3 separate regions of the Homo sapiens genome follow, and all the other regions are linked to region 2. The links are contacts of gene promoters, found by promoter capture Hi-C in human tissues and cell types (Jung and others, 2019). All regions are on one chromosome and are shown on one strand. Each heading gives the region's core, a stretch centred on a gene start or on the middle of the fragment in contact. The rest is flanking DNA. Distances are from core to core; before and after follow the strand shown.

Evidence for each region. Contacts are between HindIII fragments. The study calls those that stand out against the background at their distance.
Region 1: a fragment that was not itself captured here is called in contact with the fragment with the promoter of SOX21 in region 2 in 1 of the 25 tissues and cell types used here (lymphoblastoid cells).
Region 3: a contact is called between a fragment that was not itself captured here and the fragment with the promoter of SOX21 in region 2, in 1 of the 25 tissues and cell types used here (lymphoblastoid cells).

The regions. Positions count from the first base shown.
Region 1 is chr13:95,331,981-95,335,532 of GRCh38, reverse strand. No RefSeq gene overlaps it. Among named protein-coding and RNA genes, the nearest start is that of ABCC4, 32 kb to the right of the region's middle. The HindIII fragment of the contact is 3,544 bases long and covers 1-3,136 here.
Region 2 is chr13:94,710,399-94,714,030 of GRCh38, reverse strand. SOX21 (SRY-box transcription factor 21) reads left to right here and starts at 1,486. Exons shown (of 1, transcript NM_007084.4): 1 at 1,486-3,632. The coding sequence starts at 1,982. The coding sequence ends at 2,812. SOX21-AS1 (SOX21 antisense RNA 1) reads right to left here and starts at 1,315. Exons shown (of 2, transcript NR_046514.1): 1 at 638-1,315; 2 at 1-393. It overlaps LOC112268114 (a long non-coding RNA gene), which reads left to right and starts at 588. Exons shown (of 2, transcript NR_158368.1): 1 at 588-623; 2 at 769-1,311. RefSeq lists an enhancer at 261-762. The HindIII fragment of the contact is 11,141 bases long and covers 1-3,632 here.
Region 3 is chr13:95,397,570-95,401,364 of GRCh38, reverse strand. The region is part of intron 1 of LOC124903193 (a long non-coding RNA gene); the gene reads left to right. Among named protein-coding and RNA genes, the nearest start is that of ABCC4, 98 kb to the right of the region's middle. The HindIII fragment of the contact is 4,621 bases long and covers 1-3,795 here.

The DNA.
Region 1 (3,552 bases), core at 115-2,614, 620 kb before region 2:
AGAGGTTGCAGTGAGCCGAGATTGTGCCATTGCACTCCAGCCTGGGCAATAAAAGCGAAACCCCGTCTAAAAAAAAAAAAGAGAGAAAAAGCCGGGCATGGTGGCTCACGCCTGTAATCCCAGCACTTTGGGAGGCCAAGGCAGGCAGATCATTTGAGGTCAGGAGTTTGAGACCAGCCTGGTCAACATGGTGAAGCCTCGTCTCTACTGAAAATACAAAAATTAGCTGGGCGTGGTGGTGTGCACCTATAATCCTAGTTACTGGGGAGGCTGAGGCAGGAGAATCCCTTGAACCTGGAAGATGGAGGCTGCAGTGAGCCAAGATCATGCCATTGCACTCCAGCCTGGGTGACAGAGATAGTCTCAAAAAAAAAAAAAAAAGCCTAACATTAGCTAGTGAGAATGCTGTTGGTGGTATTGAGGTGTGCAGTTTTCATTTATTTATTTATTTTTGAGACAGGACCTTACTGTGTTACCCAGGCTGGTCTCAACATCCTAGGCTCAAGTGATCCTCCTACTTCAGCCTCTGGAGTAGCTGGGACCACAGGTGTGCACCATCACACCTGGCTAACTTTTTAATTTTTTGAAGAGATGGAGTCTCCCTATGTTGCCCAGACTGGTCTTGAACTCCTGAACTCAAGTGATCCTCCTACCTCGGCTTCCCAAAGTGTTGAGATTACAGGCATGAGCCACCACACCCAGCTAGCATTTGGGTATTGATACCAGAAGCTTTCCTGGTATTGAAAAGCATACTCATCTATGAAAAGTTCTGGAAATGGATAGAGGTGATGGTTGTACAACATTGTGAATGTACTTAATGCTACAGAATTGTACACCTAAAATGGCTAAAATGGTGAATTTTTTTTTTTTTTTTTTGAGACAGAGTCTCACTCTGTCACCCAGGCTGGAGTGCAGTGGTATGATCTTGGCTCACTGCAACCTCTGCCTCCGGGTTCAAGCAATTCTCCTGCCTCAGCCTCCCAAGTAGCTTGGATTACAGGCATGTGCCACCACGCCCGGCTAATTTGTGTATTTTTGGTAGAGATGTGGTTTCACCATGCTGGCCAGGCTGGTCTCGAACTCCTGACCTCAAGTGATCCACTGCCTCAGCCTCCCAAAGTGCTAGGATTATAGGTGTGAGCCACCACACCCGGCCATAAAATGATGAATTCTATGTTACATATATTTTATCTTTTTTTTTTTTTTTTACAAAACACACTAAATGGAACCACCCTACTTGCCCCAGTGCTGGCCTTACACGTGGGGCCCATGGGGCACAGCAGCTATACCACATACCTCCTCTTCCACAGGCCTGCCCACAGGCCACAGGTTGGCCCAGGGTGTCCCTTGGTACCATGGTCACTGCACTAGAGTAGAACTCCCTAGATTTCCTTCAACTCTATTCACATTTGACAGGCATCCATGAATGACAACAATAATTAGCTGTTCAAATCCTGTGTTACTTACTGTGTAACCTTGGGCAAGTTGTCTAACTTCTTGAAGATTCCGTTTCCCCATTTAAAATGTAGGGACAATTATAACACCCATTTCTTAGGGTTGTTGTAACAAGTTGACAGGTGTAGAGTGTTTAACACAATGCTGAGCACATAATCAGTGCACAATAAGGTTACCTATTATTAGTATTATTATTTTTTCTTCTATAAACTAGCACCAGGCTCACACCTGTAATCCCAGCACTTTGGGAGGCTGAGGCAGGAAGATCGCTTGAGCTCAGGAGTTTGAGACCAGCTGGGCCAATATGGCAAAGCCCTGTCTCTACTAAAAAAAAAAAAAACACAAAAATCAACCAGGTGTGGTGGCACATGCCTGTAATAGCAGCTACTCAGGAGGTTGAGGCACGAGAATCACTTGAACCTGGGAGGCAGAGGCTGCAGTGAGTTGAGATTGCGCTACTGCACTCCAGGCCAGGTGACAGAGGAAGATTCCGTCTCTAAATAAATAAATAAATAAATAAACTAGCACCAGAGTTTTAAGATTTTCCTTCTCTTAAAGGATAAATTGGTGGCTCACGCCTGTAATCCCAGCACTTTGGGAGGCCGAGGTGGGTGGATCACCTGAGGTCTGGAGTTCGAGACCAGCCTGTCCAACATGGTGAAACCCCATCTCTACAAAAAAAATTAGCTGGGCATGATGGTGCGTGCCTGTAATCCCAGCTACTCGGGAGGCTGAGGTGGGAGAATTGCTTGAACCAGGGAAGCGGAGGTTCCAGTGAGCTGAGATCACGCCATTGCACCCAGCCTGGGTGACAGAGCGAGACTCCATCTCAAAAAAAAAAAAAAAAAGCCTGGGTGAGGTGGCTCACGCCTGTAATCCCAGCACTTTGGGAGGCCGAGGTGGGCGGATCATGAGGTCAGGAGATCGAGACCATACTGGCTAACACAGTGAAACCCTGTCTTTACTAAAAATACAAAAAAATTAGCTGGGCATGGTGGCGGGCACCTGTAGTCCCAGCTACTCAGGAGGCTGAGGAAGGAGAATGGCATGAACCCAGGAGGCGGAGCTTGCAGTGAGCCGAGATTGTGCCACTGCACTCCAGCCTGGGTGACAGAGTGAGATTCTGTCTCAAAAAAAAAAATAAAGATAAGTTGGTTATCTGTTGCTGTATGACAAATATATTAGTTAGGGTACTCCAGAGAAACAGATCCAATGGTGGGGGTAGGAGAGGGAGAGAGAGAGAGAAATTTGTTGTAGGAATTGGCTCATGCAATTATGGAGGTCAAGAAATTCCATAGTCTGCCACTTGAAAGCTGGAGAACCAGGAATGCCAGTGGAGTAGTGCCAGCCTGAGTCTGAAGGCCTGAGAATAGGGACAGGGCAGGAGCAATGGTGTGAATCCCAGTCTAAGTTCAAACGCGCGGAGAATCAGGAGCACTGATATCTGCGGGCAGGAGAAGATGGATGTCTCAGCTCACACAGAGACAGCAAAGTTGCCCTTCCTCCACTTTTTTCTTCTATTTGGGCCCTCAGTGAGTTGGAAGGTGCCCACCCATGTTGGTGAAGGTGACCTTCCTTACTCAGTCTACTAATGCCAAGGAAAATATTTTCTGGAAACACCCTAACAGACACACCCAGAAATAATATTTTACCACCTATTGGGGCATCCTTTAGCCCAATCAAGTTGACACATAATTTTTTTTTTTTTTAGACGGGGTTTCGCTCTTTCGCACAGGCTGGAGTGAAGTGGCACAATCTTGGCTCACTGCAACCTCTGTCGCCCGGGTTCAAGCAATTCTCCTGCCTCAGCATCCTGAGTAGCTGGGATTATAGGCATCCGCCACCACGCCCAGCTAATTTTTGTATTTTCAGTAGAGATGGGGTTTCACCATGTTGGCCAGGCTGGTCTCGAACTCTCGACCTCAGGTGATCCACCCACCTCAGCCTCCCAAAGTGCTGGGATTACAGGTGTGAGCCACTGCGCCCGGCCAACACATAAAATTAACAACCACAACAAATTACCCCAAAACACAGTGGCGTGAAGCAACATTTATTATCTCATTGTTTTCATGGGTTGGAAATCCAGGCATGGTTTAG
Region 2 (3,632 bases), core at 237-2,736:
CCAAGAATGTCCTTATTCCCTCCAGAGTTATTTTTCACTCCACTACCTCTGACTAGGTGCATCGCCAGTGCAAGAAAATGCGAGAAGCCTCTGTTTCTGTTGCAAGCAACACCTGGACCTCCAAGGAAAATGAGCACTTTCTTGCTAGGAACAGTCTCAAACATTTTCAAGGGTGAGTCTCCCCTTCTCCAGGTTTAACCCTCTTCCTCCGTAGCTGGAGAGGCTCTCCTACTCGTGCCCGCCGCCTTCTTCCTCCCGGCGAGGATTCCAGGGCCACAACCAGGGCAGCTGCACGCCAGGCCGGCCTGGGTAGCCGGGATGACACCAGGGTTTGCCAACGCCAAACAGGGCGCAGACTCCCCGGCGCGCTCCGGACTCTCCACTCGCCTAAACCTGCTCTCAAGTGAAAAGGAGTGGGAGGAGGAGGATTGGGAGGGGGCGGGGGGCGGAGGGGATCTGTTAATTCGAGGTCCTGGGGGTGTGGGAGCGGGAGGCGGCTCCGCTGATCCCTCCTCCCTCCCCGAGTCCTGGGCTCCACCTCCTCCGCAGGCCCCCAGATATACACACACAGCCGCGGCTGGACATGCACACCCAGTGCCGGCTCCGGGCGCGCACACATGCAGGTAGCCACACTCACCTGAGCCGGTGCAGAGGGCGGCCTGGGCTGGGAAGGGGCCCCCTGCGCCGCGGGAGTGGGGAGAGCGGGAGGTGCCACAGCGCGGACCTGCGAACTGAGGTGATGGCCCGTTTTCCTTAACTCTCCTGCAGCACCTCCGCCCCTGCGCCGGCTCGGCTCTGGCCACAGCAGCGAGGACAGAGGGGCCCCGGGCGCGGCGGACTCGCGGGCGCACGCTCCCAGGAGCGCGCCGAGAGGGGCGCCGCGGCGCAGGAAACTTGGGCGAAGTTAGTTGCAAGTGCCAGGCGGCTGCCGAGAAGAGCGAGGCGGGGACGCGGCCGGTGCCAGGCCTGCGGCGCCGCGTGGAGGCTGCGCTGCCCTCCGCGGCCGGCGAGCTCCGGGAGCCCTAAGTCGGCAGGCGCGCCTGAAGGGGCTCGGAGCGAACAGAGCCGGCATGGCCCAGGGGACGGCCGGACGCGGCTCCTCGGCGAGCCGGGAGAACTTCCTCTGAGGCCGGGCGACCAACGCTTGCTCAAGCCTCATCCACCCTCCTTCCTCGCCCCACCCGTCAGTCCAGCAGCGGGAGAGGAAGACTCGAGAGGCAGGTGCTGCGGGGGACAGCTCCCCCCTCCAAAAAAAAAAAATCACCCAGCCGATTGGGGGTTTCCCATCGGCGCACCCTGCCCGGAGCCAAGAAGACAGGCTGGTGCTGCTGTATTTGTATTTATATCCATTGCTGCGCTCTGCGTTCTCGTGGCACGCCTGGACACTCCTCCGCCTCCCCCTCCTCTTCCTCCTCCAGGGCCACCTCCCCGCCTTCCCCACCCCCATCTGCTTCTGTCAAATGAGAAAGTCACCGAGGAGAACCCAAACACTCCAGCCGCTGAGAGCCCCCTTTGGCACTTGGCAGCACGCGGCGGCGGGCTCCTCGGCTCAACTTCGAGGAGTCTCCGCGACGCAACTTTTGGGGACGCTTTGCATTTAAGAGAGAACGACCGAGGAGGAGGAGCGCTCTGCCCGGCCGCCGCTACCTGCGGGGAGCTCACCAGCAAACGCCACTGCAGACGAAGGACCCAAAGAACGTAAAGGGCAAACTGCCGCCGCGGGGAGGGGGCACCGCCGAGAAGTTAGAGTGTCCCAGAGACAACCTGCTCGAGCGCTCGGCCGGAGACACTAAGGCGGCCCGGGGCGCGGCGTGGCCCTGGGCTGGTCCCCCAGCCCCCTCCTCCGGGGCGGGAGCGACGCCGGGGCGCGACGAGCCCCGGCCGGCCGAGCGGGTCTCCGCGGGCAGCCAACATTGATTTCCTCCGGGCCGAGGGCGAGGGCCCGGGAGGCGGCGGGCTGCAGCCGCGGCAGGGCGAGAGCATGTCCAAGCCGGTGGACCACGTCAAGCGGCCCATGAACGCCTTCATGGTGTGGTCGCGGGCTCAGCGGCGCAAGATGGCCCAGGAGAACCCCAAGATGCACAACTCGGAGATCAGCAAGCGCTTGGGCGCCGAGTGGAAACTGCTCACAGAGTCGGAGAAGCGGCCGTTCATCGACGAGGCCAAGCGTCTACGCGCCATGCACATGAAGGAGCACCCCGACTACAAGTACCGGCCGCGGCGCAAGCCCAAGACGCTGCTCAAGAAGGACAAGTTCGCCTTCCCGGTGCCCTACGGCCTGGGCGGCGTGGCGGACGCCGAGCACCCTGCGCTCAAGGCGGGCGCCGGGCTGCACGCGGGGGCGGGCGGCGGCCTGGTGCCTGAGTCGCTGCTCGCCAATCCCGAGAAGGCGGCCGCGGCCGCCGCCGCTGCCGCCGCACGCGTCTTCTTCCCGCAGTCGGCCGCTGCCGCCGCCGCTGCCGCCGCCGCCGCCGCCGCGGGCAGCCCCTACTCGCTGCTCGACCTGGGCTCCAAAATGGCAGAGATCTCGTCGTCCTCGTCCGGCCTCCCGTACGCGTCGTCGCTGGGCTACCCGACCGCGGGCGCGGGCGCCTTCCACGGCGCGGCGGCGGCGGCTGCAGCGGCGGCCGCCGCCGCCGGGGGGCACACGCACTCGCACCCCAGCCCGGGCAACCCGGGCTACATGATCCCGTGCAACTGCAGCGCGTGGCCCAGCCCCGGGCTGCAGCCGCCGCTCGCCTACATCCTGCTGCCGGGCATGGGCAAGCCCCAGCTGGACCCCTACCCCGCGGCCTACGCTGCCGCGCTATGACCCCGCGGGGCCGCCTCGCGAGGACCGGTGTGCACACGTGTACATATGTATAGGTACGAGCGCTGCGGCCTCCCCGTGCGCCCTCCCGCGACCGGGGGCCCGGTTTGTATGTACATAGAATGTATAGGTGCCAGGTAGAGGCAGAGAGGCCAGGCGGGGCAGGAGTGGCCAAGCGCGCAAGGGCGCGGGCGAGCAGGCCTGTGAATTCGCAGGATCATTTCAGACCCGCACTTCGGCAGCCAACTCGAAAGCAGGCGGTTGTGTGCGGCAGCAGTTGGCGTTTGCTTTGCACTTCGGAACCTGTTGCGTTTTGACCCACGGAGGTGGAGGAGTAACTTTTTGACATGTTGGCCTTTCCAGTTTTGTTGGAAGTTTCATGGTCGGTTTTGTTTTTGTTTCTCATTCTTCTTCCTCGCCCCTCAGCCCCCCAACCCCCAACCCCCTCCCGGTCCGTGTTGCATGCACGCTGTTCAAATGTGAGGTCTGAAATGGCTGGCACACGGGAAAAGCTGCTTGTGTCATTCGTTTCTGGGAGTGGGATGGCTCTGAGCAGCCTCGCCTCCCTGTTTGTACTATTTGAACTTTGCAGATCTCTGTTCTCTCAAGCAGAACTCCCAACCAGATCCATTCTTGACCAGTGACCGGCTCGAATCTGGCCTTTTGTGTGAGATGATCACGGTTTCTTTTGTTTATCACGCCATTTGCAAATCAGAGCAAGAGCTCTTTCTCAAGGGCAAGAAACGCAAACAAGAAATATTTGTGAGATGAAAGTTGTCAATTGGATTTTCTTCCTAAACAAACAACAACAACAAACTACTAG
Region 3 (3,795 bases), core at 314-2,813, 690 kb before region 2:
CAAGCCCCCTCTTCTCTCCTTCCCATAACCTGTCTGGTCTTGCTCCAAGCCCTCGTTTTTTCTGAAACCTCAAGATGGTTACAGAAAAGCATCAACCAGGCTGGGCAAGGTGGGACCATAATCCCAGCACTTTGGAAGGCCAAGGTGGGAGGATTGCTTGAAGCCAGGAGTTTGAGACCAGCCTGGGCAACAAAGTAAGACTCCGTCTCTACAAAAAAAAAAAAAAATATATATATATATATATGTATACATATATACATATATATATGTATATATGTATACATATATATATCACACATATATACACATATATATGTATATATATATGCAACATGACAAAACCCCATCTCTACTAAAAATATAAAAATTAGCCCAGTGTGCTGGTGCATGCCTGTAGTCCCAGCTACTTGGGAGGCTGAAGTGGGAGGATTTCTTGAGCCCGGAGGTTGAGGCTGCAATGAGCCATGGTCAAGCCACTGCACTCCAGCCTGGGTGACAGAGTGAGACCCTGTCTCAGAAACAAACAAACAAACAAAAAATTAGCCAGATGTGATGGTGTGCACCTGTGGTCCCAGCTATTCAAGAGGCTGAGGTGGGAGGATCGCTTGAGCACAGGAGTTCAAAGATCCAGTGAGCTATGATCGCACCACTGCACTTCAGCCTGGGTGATGGAGTGAGACTCCATCTCTAAAAAAATAGCTATTAAATTAAAAAAAAAACTTTTAAAAAAGAAGCATCAGCCATCCAGCCATGTATCTGAGGTCTTACGACTCCCATGCATATTAATGAATTTGTATGCCTTCTCTGTTCTTAACCTGCTTTTTGTCAGTTGACTTTTCCATGAGCCTTCAGAGGGTGAAGGGGAAGCTTGCCCTTGGCCCCTAAAGTACTGTGGGTTTTGTCTGAGAATTACCCAGAGGTCAGGGCACAGGTGGACACAGGGAACTCCATGCTGTATCCCCTGTGGTCTGAGGTCTACCTGAAGCTGGATGCCAAGGCCCTTGCCAGGGTAGGGGTGGGCTCCCCAAGATCACCAAGGAAAAGCCCAGAACTACTTCCTTTCCTTTCCAGTCCAACACACCCAGAATTCTCCCTCTTAAAGACTTGGTTCAGGCCAGGTGCGGTGGCTCACACCTATAATCCCAGCACTTTGGGAGACGGAGGCAGGTGGATCACTTGAGGTCAGAAGTTCAAGACCAGCGTGGCCAACATGGTGAAACCCCATCTCTACTAAAAATACAAAAATTAGCCGGGTGTGGTGGCAGGCGCCTGTAATCCTAGCTACTCTGGAGGCTGAGGCATAAGAATTGCTTGAATCCAGGAGGTGGAGTTTGCAGTCAGCTGAGATCGTGCCACTGCACTCCAGCCTGAGTGACAAAGTGAGGCTCCGTCTCAAAAAAAAAAAAAAGACTTGGTTCAAATGGAAGCTATGCCTATAGTACACAGCTGTATGTATCTGTGTGTAGGTGTCTTCAAAGTACGTTTTTTTTTAATTAAAAAAAAGTTTTTGAGACAGGATTTCACTCTGTTCCTCAGGCTGCGAGTGCAGTGGCACGATCACAACTCACTGCAGCCTTGACCTCCTGAGCTCAGCAATCCTCCCACCTCGGCCTTCTGAGGAGCTGGAACTACAGGCACACACCACCATGCCCAGCTAATATTTTCATTTTTCATAAATATAGGGTCTCACTATGTTGCCCAGGCTGGCCTTGAACTCCTGGGCTCAAGCGATCCTCCCACCTGGGCCTCCCAAAGTATTGGGAACATAAGTTACCAAGTTAGTTCCTTTAAAAATATTTTTTGAGTCACTGTGCCTGGCCCAAAATATGTTTTTAAAGGAGCTAACTTGGGCTGGGCGCGGTGGCTCACACCTGTAATCCTACCACTTTGGGAGGTCAAGGTGGGCAGATCACTTGAGGTCAGGAGTTCGAGACCAGCCTGGCCAACATGGTAAAAACCCATCTTTACTAAATATACAAAAATTAGCCCGGCATGGTGGTGCACGCCTGTAATCCCAGCTACTCAGGAGGCAGAGGCAGGAGAATCACTTGAACCCAGGAGGCAGAGGTTGCAGTGAGCCAGGATGGTGCCACTGCACTCCAGCCTGGGCAACAGAGAGAGAATGTGTCTCAAAAATAAAAAATAAATAAAATAAAGGAGCTAACTTGGTAGCTTAACCAGAAATTATTGAGCAAAGCACAACTTTATTTAATCCTTTGTTCAAATCACAAATTCAAAATAGTGATATTATTGTAAGCTCTTCAAATTTGGACGAGAGCAAACCTCTTGGGGATTTCGACATCCTTTCTCACTAATAGTTAAACAAGACCTTTTTTTTTTTTTTTGAGATGGACTTTTGTTCTGTCACCCAGGTTAGAGTGCAGTAGCACAATCTCTGCTCACTGCAGCCTCTGCCTCCTGGGTTCAAGCGATTCTCCTGTCTCAGCCTCCTGAGTAGTTGGGACTACAGGCATGTGACACCACACCCAGCTAATTTTTGTATTTTTAGTAGAGACAGGGTTTCACCATGTTGGCCAGGCTGGTCTCGAACTCCTGACCTCAGGTGATCCACCTGCCTAGGCCTCCCAAAGTGTTGGGATTACAGTTGTGAGCCACCATGCCCAGCCACAAGTCCTTTTTCTTTAACTTGTATTTTAGGTTTGGGGTACATGTGAAGATTTGTTGTATAAGCGAACTGGTGTCATGGGGGTTTGTTGTACAGATTATTAAGTCTCTTTTAGGAGGCTGTTGTAGTTCTGTAGGTGAAAGATGATGGCAGCCCAGGACATGTGGTGGCAATAGAGAGAGGCAGAGTTAAGACAGTTTGAGGCTGAATTTAATTTAAAATGTTTCCATTAAAAAGATAGAAGCTGGGTGCAGTAGCTTACACCTGTAATCCCAGCACTTTGGGAGGCCGAGGTGGGTGGATCACCAGGGCAACTTGGTTAGCTAGGTGTGGTGGTGGGCGCCTGTAATCCCAGCTACTCAGGAGGCTGAGGCAGGAGAATCACTTGAACCTGGGAGGCGGAGGTTGCAGTGAGCTGAGATTGCACCATTGCACTCTAGCCTGGGTGACAGAGTGAGACTCCGTCTCAAAAAAGAAAGAAAGAAAGAAACTTAAGAAAGAAACAGACGTAAGGCAGTGACCAAAGAGGGTTGTACATTTAAAAGAGTTTGTTTCTGTTTTAAGACAAGAAAAACTTCTCCATGTTTGTGTGCTCATGGGTATGATTCAGGAAAAGGGAAGAATGTGATGATGCAGAAGAGAGATTGGGGAAAATGGAAAAAAAGCCAAACTATTTTTTTTTTTTTTTGAGACAGAGTCTCGCTCTGTTGCCCAGGCTGGGAGTGCAATGGCGTGATCTCGGCTCACTGCAACCTCTGCCAACTGAATTCAAGCGATTCTCCTGTCTCAGTCTCCCTAGTAGTTGGGATTACAGGCATCTGCTACCATGTCTGGCTAATTTTTTGTACTTTTAGTAGAGATGGGATTTCGCCATATTGGCCAGACTGGTCTCGAACTCCTGACCTCAAGTGATCCGCCTGCCTCAGCCTCCCAAAGTGCTGAGATTACAGGCTTGAGCCACCGCATTTGGCCTTTCTTTCTTTCTTTTTTAGAAAAAGCCAAACTCTGAACAGGCGAGAAGGAGTGGGATTCCTATTGGGAGCTTTTGTGGAGGCAATGGGCCTTTGTCAGGGAATATGGGGAGGGGCTGTGGCAAACTCACCTGAGCCAGTTGGTTATGCACAATCTTGGTTGAAAGAAATTACACCAGGTCAGGGCTAGCCAATCGC